Regions from separate parts of the Homo sapiens genome. Here all the other regions are linked to region 1. Evidence: promoter capture Hi-C in 16 types of primary human blood cells and fetal thymus (Javierre and others, 2016). All regions are on one chromosome and are shown on one strand. The core of a region is centred on a gene start or on the middle of the fragment in contact, and the rest is flanking DNA. Distances in the headings are between cores, read along the strand shown. Region 1 holds the start of GDF7 (growth differentiation factor 7). Region 2 has its middle 16 kb from the start of LDAH. Region 3 overlaps LDAH (lipid droplet associated hydrolase).

What was found. Contacts are between HindIII fragments. The CHiCAGO score rates a contact against its expected background, and 5 or more counts as called.
Region 2: a contact is called between a fragment that was not itself captured here and the fragment with the promoter of GDF7 in region 1, in 1 of 17 cell types (total B cells). The highest score is 6.9, in total B cells.
Region 3: a contact is called between a fragment that was not itself captured here and the fragment with the promoter of GDF7 in region 1, in 1 of 17 cell types (total B cells). The highest score is 6.5, in total B cells.

Annotation. Positions count from the first base shown.
Region 1 is chr2:20,665,837-20,668,547 of GRCh38, forward strand. It overlaps GDF7 (growth differentiation factor 7), which reads left to right and starts at 1,308. Exons shown (of 2, transcript NM_182828.4): 1 at 1,308-1,794. The coding sequence starts at 1,404. RefSeq lists enhancers at 51-881, 1,868-1,987 and silencers at 968-1,077, 1,148-1,197, 1,238-1,387. The HindIII fragment of the contact is 16,143 bases long and covers 1-2,711 here.
Region 2 is chr2:20,837,825-20,840,535 of GRCh38, forward strand. No RefSeq gene overlaps it. Among named protein-coding and RNA genes, the nearest start is that of LDAH, 16 kb to the left of the region's middle. The HindIII fragment of the contact is 2,855 bases long and covers 1-2,711 here.
Region 3 is chr2:20,809,154-20,811,864 of GRCh38, forward strand. All of the region lies in intron 1 of LDAH (lipid droplet associated hydrolase), which reads right to left. Among named protein-coding and RNA genes, the nearest start is that of LDAH, 13 kb to the right of the region's middle. The HindIII fragment of the contact is 310 bases long and covers 1,153-1,462 here.

The DNA of each region.
Region 1 (2,711 bases), core at 58-2,557:
GGGACCTAGGCGGCTTTGGATTCGGCGGGCGACCTCGCTTTGAAGCTGATCACCCGCTCAAGGTGATCACGACGTGCCGACCCAGTCTAGATTTTGAGTTCTGCAGAAAATGCAATTTTAAAGGAAAAGGACCCGCCTGCCCTTCTTCGGCAGTTCGTTTGGCCCAGGCCTTCGATCAGCTGAAAGTTTCCGATCTAGGGGGATGTCCAGGCTGCCGGCGGAGCAGAGCCGATAACCCCCCTCTCCTGCGCGTTCCCCTGAGACTTGGCCTCCGCAACCTGTCCCAGCCGCGGAGCAAACTGCTCTGCGGCCCGCGCGAGTGCGCCCCAGGGCTTCGCCGCTGCCGGGCGTCCCCTCCATCCACCTCGGGACCCGCGCCATCACCGCGGCGGGGTAAGAAGCTCGGAGGCGCCATCCCGGGGCTCTGCGCCGTCCGCTCTCCCGGCTCCTGGCCGCTCACGCACACAGCCGGTAGCTGGTTTTCGTTAGCCGCTGCCCTCGCCCAGAAGGCGGGTGGAAGGTCGCCAGTTGGACGCACAGCCAAACTCTTAGCGCACTCCCGCGCGAGATCCCCCATCACCCGGGGCTGCCGTCCTCATTTCGAGCTCTTTCTAGAGCTTGGCTCCCGCTGAAGCGCAACTTCCGCGCCCAAACCTTGCTTTTACGACGGGCGGTCCGCGTCCAAAGGTCTCTTACAGGCCTGCCCTTTCAGCTCCTCGCCCTCCCTTCCTCCCCTACCGGCCCCCTCCCCTGCTCTGGCCGCCCGCTGCAATCCTTTGGGGTCTGTGGCTGAGTGGGGAACCGCCGACCCGCGATCCGGAACGCGACTTTGAGGCCGCCGGGAGCATCCTGTGGCCTCTCTCTGCGCGGCCACCCGGCCGCGGCGCGAAGCGGTCTGGAGGGCGAGCCCTTCCGCGGCCCCAACTCTGCCGCCCCGTTCCCGGCATTGGGAACCAGGGCAGGGAGGGGGCGGGTGTTTCTCTGCGGGGGAGTGGGGAGGAAGCTGGGCGGGTGCGCGCGGTGCCCCGAGCCTGGAACCACGGAGGGCGCGTTGGTCTTGGGCGGATGGAGGGGGTGTCGCACTGCCGCGGGGAGGCGTGTCGGGAGGCTGGGGCCAGTGGCAGTCGCTTGGCGAGGGTGGGGGCGTAGCGCTGCGGTGGGAGGAGGCGGCTCCGGCCCTGGTCTCCACTCTAGGCCGGGGTGGGGGGCGCATAGCGGCCGCCGGAGCTTTCAGCAGGGGGCGCTGCTCCGGGCGTTGGGCGGGGGTGGGGTGGGCCAGGAGGGGGGGCCGCGGGCTGGCCGCGCACACTTCCCCCATTATTAAACACTATGTTCAAAAGGCGCCGGGGGACTTCCCGGAGCCACGGAGCCCGCGCCGCCCGCCCGCCCGGCCCACGGAGCCCATGGACCTGAGCGCCGCCGCCGCGCTGTGCCTTTGGCTGCTGAGCGCCTGCCGCCCCCGCGACGGGCTGGAAGCGGCCGCCGTGCTGCGAGCGGCGGGGGCTGGGCCGGTCCGGAGCCCAGGGGGCGGCGGCGGCGGCGGCGGCGGCGGGCGGACTCTTGCCCAGGCTGCGGGCGCCGCGGCTGTCCCGGCCGCCGCGGTTCCCCGGGCCCGCGCCGCGCGCCGCGCCGCGGGCTCCGGCTTCAGGAACGGCTCGGTGGTGCCGCACCACTTCATGATGTCGCTTTACCGGAGCCTGGCCGGGAGGGCTCCGGCCGGGGCAGCCGCTGTCTCCGCCTCGGGCCATGGTCGCGCGGACACGATCACCGGCTTCACAGACCAGGCGACCCAAGGTACTTACGCCTCTTCTGTGCCCGCCCATCCCGTCAGGTCCTGGGCTGAGACCAGCCCCGGAGCCGTGCCGCAGCTCCGTTACATTTGGAGCCGCGGCCCCATGCGGCCCACCCTCAGGTGATAGAAAGAAACTTCGCCGAGGCCAACACTCTCCAGCCCGCTGCACCTGGACTGTGGCGAGAGTCGCGGCAGCTCCCGGGGCCCAGTCCCAGAGGGCTGACTGGTCCCTCTCCCAGGTCTCCCTGGCCTTGCAGGCCGGCTGGTCCCCTCGAGGAGGCAGGCGGAGGCCAAGATTCGCTTCTTGGGGAATGGTCTGGAGTGGCCTCGGAGCCCTCAGAGAAGAAAGGAGGGCAAGAGCTGTGTTCCCGGGAGTCACGGCGAGAGGGACTGCACGGTGGTGAGGGTGATGGCTCCTTCCTTGCAGCAATTTCTGCAGCTCCCAGTCTCCTGCGGGCCACACAAATTGGGGGAAGCCCAGGGAAAACTAGGGCAGAGGCAGGTATCAGACTAAAGTAAATGGCCCTGGAGAGGCTGGTGGCATAACCAGGTATGAGGAGTGCCCTGCTCAGCAGGTTGGTCTGGGTGGTGGTGGTTTGTGTGTGTGTGACATGTGCAGCTATGGGTGCCTGTGTCTGGTGCTGGGCCCCTGGGAGAGCCAGAGGTCAAGGATCCTGGTGGTGTGGGGAGGAGAGGCCTGCTGGGGACCCTGCAGGAATGCAGGCCTCTCTTAGACTAAGCACCCCACCTTGTTCTGCCCTGGGCCTTCCAAAGGTAAGATGTAGGTGAGGCTGTGGTGTGGCTGCTGTATGTCATCTGGATTTTATTAATCTCCATTGAAATCATTAAAGCAGACAGATAGAGAAAATTTACCTAATTTCAGGCGGAAATGCAAGTAATTTCGGCCTTAATTCTATCC
Region 2 (2,711 bases), core at 146-2,645, 170 kb after region 1:
AAAAAAATGTATGTTTCTTCTCTTCACCTTTCCTTGGGATTCTTTTTTTCTAACCTGAGTCCTATTTGTAAATATAAATCTTCCAGCGGTGAATGTTCCTTTGAGCTTTGCTTTGAGTAGATCCCATTTCCTGATGTACTGACAAGTAAACAGTCATTTGATAAGCAAGCACATTTGTTCAGTTGAGTGATCATTGTCCTGTGGAGATAATTGGGTGATCTGCCCTTTGGATAAATATGTTTTCAGGAAGTCTCTTAAACAATAAAATTACTCTTAATAATTTTCTGCCCTTCCCAGTGAGACATTGTATTTTGTGCACCATTGACATCAAACTTGGCGTTGTAGCTTGTTATAGACAATGGAATGTTAACAGATGGTCCATTGTGGGATTCTGCCATTGTGGAATTCTGCCATTCCTCTTTTCTCTCTGCCTCAAGATCAGCATGTCCCAGATTGGGGTGTTCCTTTGTCTTGGGTCCCAGAATGAAGAAGATGTGGAATAGAGGTGCAGCCAATCTGGGAAGGACATGCAATGGGAGCAAGAAATAAATCTTCATTGTTGTAAATTGTTGAGATTTCGGGATTATTTTTTATTGTAGCAAAAAGTAGCACAAGTGCCTAATACAGGACATGTCAAATATATAGATATGTATCCTTTGTATGTACCTTTAAATATTGTATTATATATAACATACAACATATAATATATAATGTACATCTAAATATGATATAGTAACATCTTTTGAACCAATAATGTATAAGTACATTTTATGCAACTTGAAACACAATTTTTGTTATTTAAATTATTATTATAAAGATTTATAGCTGTGCCTTTGCTATATGCAAAATTTGCTATTTGTTATACGACAAATTTTGCAGACAGTCATGATTCATTTGATGCCAAGTCTTTGGGCAAAAAAATTTCCCTATTACAGCTCCGTTTCTTTGAGGAAATCCCATTGCTGTATACCCATCAGCTTTGGGACATAGTTCTAGAAATTCATTAATATAAAAAAAAGACTTTTTTTCTTGTCATTTTCAAATTCTGATTTTATCAGTCCTTAAAACAGGTAAAAATAACTGATAAGGAGAATGACATCATATATCTTTATAAATGTCTCTCAGAAAATAAATATTTTGAGCACGTGGAGAAAAGGAAAGGCTTATATACTGTTCTTGGGAATGAAAATTAGTACAGCCTGTATGGAAAGTAGTATGGAGAGTTCTCAAAGAACTAAAAATAGAACTACCATTCAACCCAGCAATCTCACTACTGGGCATCTACCCAAAAGAAAACAAGTCAATATATCAAAAAGATAGCTGCCCTCATATATTTATTGAAACACTATGCAAAATAGCAAAGATACGGAATGAACCTGTGTCCATCAACAGATGAATGGATAAAGAGAATGTGGTATATATACACAATGGAATACTATGCAGCCATAAAAATGAAATCATGTCATTTGCAGCAACATTGATGAAATTGGATTTCATTAGCATAAGTGAAACAAGACAGACATAGAAAGACAAATACTGCATATTCTCACTCATAATTGGGTGCTAAAAATTTGTTCACATTGTTGTAAAGAGTGGAATGATAGATAATGGAGACTTGGAAGAGTCTGGAGGTGAGAAGGGGGAGGATGATGAAGAGTTGGTTAATGGATATAATGTATGTTATTTCGGTGATGGATACCCTAAAAGTGCTGACTTGACCACTACACAATCTATGCACATAACAAACTTGCACATATACCCCATATATTTGTACAAATAAAAAGGAAAAGAAAAATGAGTGTTGTTTCAGCGTCACTGATCATTAGAGAAATGCAAATCAAAACTACCACGATTTAGTTCTACCTGAGCTATTGCTGTTTTATTTTAAAAACTACAATGAGATAGCATCTCAACCCAGTTAAAATGAATCTTATCCAAAAGATAGGCAATAACAAATGCTGGTGAGGATGTGGAGAAAAGGAAACCCTCATACAATCTTGGTGGGAATGTAAATAAAATAGTGCAAACACTACAGAGAATAGTTTGGACGTTCCTCAAAAAACTAAAAGTAGAACTACCTTATAATCCAGCAATCCCAATGCTAGGTATATACCCAAAAGGAAGGAAATCAGTATATTGAAGAGATCTCTGACTCCCATGTTTATTTCTGCACTATTCACAATAGCCAATATTTGGAAGCAACCTAAGTGTCCATCTGCAGACAACTGAACAAAGGAAATGTGGTACCATACACACAATGGGATACTATTCAGCCATACAAAGAATGAGATCCTGTCATTTGCAACATTATGGATGGAACTGGAGGTCATTATGTTAAGTGAAATAAGCCAGGCACAGGAAAACAAACTTTGCGTGTTCTCACTTATTTGTGGGAGCTAAAAATTAAAACAGTTGAACTTATGGAGATAGAGAGTAAAAGGATGGTTACCAGAGTCTGAGAAAGGTAGTAGGTGGTGGATGAGGGAGGGAGGAAGAAGGTTGGTAAATGAGCACAAAATATAAATAGATAGAATAAATAAGATCTAGGATTTGATAGCACAACAGGGTGTCTACAGTCAACAATAATGTATTGTACACTTAAAAATAACCAGAAGAGTATAATTGGATTGCTTATAACAAAGAAATAATGAATGCTTATGATGATGGACCCCACTTACCATGACATGATTACTACACATTATATGCCTGTA
Region 3 (2,711 bases), core at 58-2,557, 140 kb after region 1:
GGCCGAGGCAGGTGGATCACAAGGTCAGGAGATCAAGACCATCCTGGCCAACATCGTGAAACCCCATCTCTACTAGAAATACAAAAAAAAAAAAAATTAGCTGCGCTTGGTGGCGCGTGCCTGTAATCCCAGCTACTCAGGAGGCTGAGGCAGAAGAATTACTTGAACCAGGGAGTCGGAGGTTGCAGTGAGCCGAGATCGCACCACTGCACTCCAGCCTGGCAGCAGAGTGAGAGTTCATCTCAAAAAAAAAGGAAAAGACTTTCAAATTCCATCCTCCATTAGAATTAAGAACTTGGATTTAGCAAAAGACACTATTAAGAGAGTCAGAAGGCAAGTCACAGAGTGGGAGAACACTATACATATACACACACACATATATACACATATGTATAGTATTCTGAAAACGAGCCTGTTGTTAGGAAATATATATATACACACAGGATATAAAAATAGATTTTTGTCCCAACATGCACATATCCAGAATTTACAAAGAACTTTTACAAATCAGTAAGAGACAACTCAATAGAAAAATGATATTTGAACAGGCACTTCACAAAAGAGACTATCAGCGAATAAACATAAGGGCTTTCTAGAAGAGTAAAAGAATACTGATACAGAAACTATAAATAAAATACCATTCAGGGAGGAGACTGATTTGCTGGATATGTATAGGCCAATACCGAAGCTGTCCTACTGTTCACTATGAAGGCCTTGAATGGCAAGCTAAAAAATTAGAAAACCAGAAATTCCACAAACAGGTTTTCCAAGGAACATGTATCACAAGCTACCAGTTACCATACTTAAGAAAATAAAGTGTTCTCAGGAAACATTGGGTGTTCCAGTTACTCTCGCTATCTAAAATATTACTTTAAAACTTAGTGGCTTAAGACAACCATTTACTATGCTTATGGATTCTGTGGGTCAGGAATTCAGAAAGGGCACAACAAAGATAGCCTATCTCTGATCCAAAGTCTGGGGCCTTAGCTGAGAAAACTCAAGAACTGGGTGTGATCTGATCACTGGAGGCAGGAGTCATCTGGAAGTATCTTTGTTCATATGCTTGGTGACTGATGCTGTTGTCACATAGGCTGTTGGCCTGGAACACCTGCATGTGCCTTCTCCATTTGGCCTGCCAATATGGGCTACTTAAGCTTCTTCAGAAAATGGTGGCTTGGTTCCAAGAGCAAATGTCTCAAGAGTACCAGATTAAAGTTGTATCACCTTTTATGACCTACCCTCAAAAGTCACATAGCATCACTTCCATGTTAGACAGAAGCCCATCAATATTCAAAGACAGCATGTTCTTTGTACAATATGACTGTGACATTTCTACTGAGAGGGGTCAGTAGAAGAAGTGTCAAAGTCATATTGTAAAAAGAACATGTGGTATGGGAGTTACTATTGTGGCCATCTTTGGAAAACACAATCTGCAAAGTTAAGTTAAACACAAAGGCACATAAGCTTTACTTCTGAGGAACTTTTTCAAAGCACACCGATAAGAACTGAGAATGCTTTAGAGGGGGACATAGTATACAACAGGGGTCCACAATCCCTGGGCCATGGTCTGGAACTGGTTAGGAACCAGGCCACATAGCAGGAGATAAGCGGCAAGCAAGCATTACTGCCTGAGCTCCGCCTCATGTTAGATCAGTGGAGGCATTAAATTCTCACAGGAACGCAAACCCTATTGTGAACTGTGCATGCGAAGGATCTAGGTTGTATGCTCCCTATGAGAAACTAACGCCCAGTGATCTGAGATGGAACAGTTTCATCCCAAAACCATCACTCCCCACTCCCCACCATTTGTGGAAAAATTGACTTCCACAAAATGGGTCCCTGGTGCCAAAAAGGTATTCGACCTTCTTTTTTTTTTTTTTTTGAGACGGAGTCCCGCTCTCTCGCCCAGGCTGGACTGCAGTGGCGCGATCTCGGCTCACTGCAAGCTCCACCTCCCGGGTTCACGCCATTCTCCTGCCTCAGCCTCCCGAGTAGCTGGGACTACAGGCGCCCGCCACCACGGCCGGCTAATTTTTTTGTATTTTTAGTAGAGACGGGGTTTCACCGTGTTAGCCAGGATGGTGTCGATCTCCTGACCTCGTGATCCGCCCATCTCGGCCTCCCAAAGTGCTGGGATTACAGGCGTGAGCGGCCGCGCCCGGACTCAACCTTCTAAAAACTGATTTGACTATATTTCATTAATGGTGATCCTACTAATCTCTCTCATTAATACCTCATCTCCTTCCTCAGAACAGTTTGGGAAGATGTTGGAGGAAAGATAATCTGGTGGATTTAAAAGGCAGAGGGACTGGATTAACTGGATTAAACTAGTTTTTTTTTTTTGTTTTTTGAGATGAGTCTTGCTCTGTCGCCCAGGCTGGAGTGCAGTGGCGCGATCTCGGCTCAAAGCAAGCTCTGCCCCCGGGGTTCACGCCATTCTCCTGCCTCAGCCTCCCGAGTAGCTGGGACGACAGGCGCCTGCCACCATGCCTGGCTAATTTTTTGTATTTTTAGTAGAGATGGGGTTTCACTGTGTTAGCCAGGACGGTCTCGATCTCCTGACCTCGTGATCCACCCCTCTCGGCCTCCCAAAGTGCTGGGATTACAGGTATGAGCCACCTCACCTGGCCTAAACTAGTTCTTTTAAGAGGACTATGAAAGACAGAAAAAACACAAGATTACACTAGAGTTTGGCAGCTATCAAAATAATC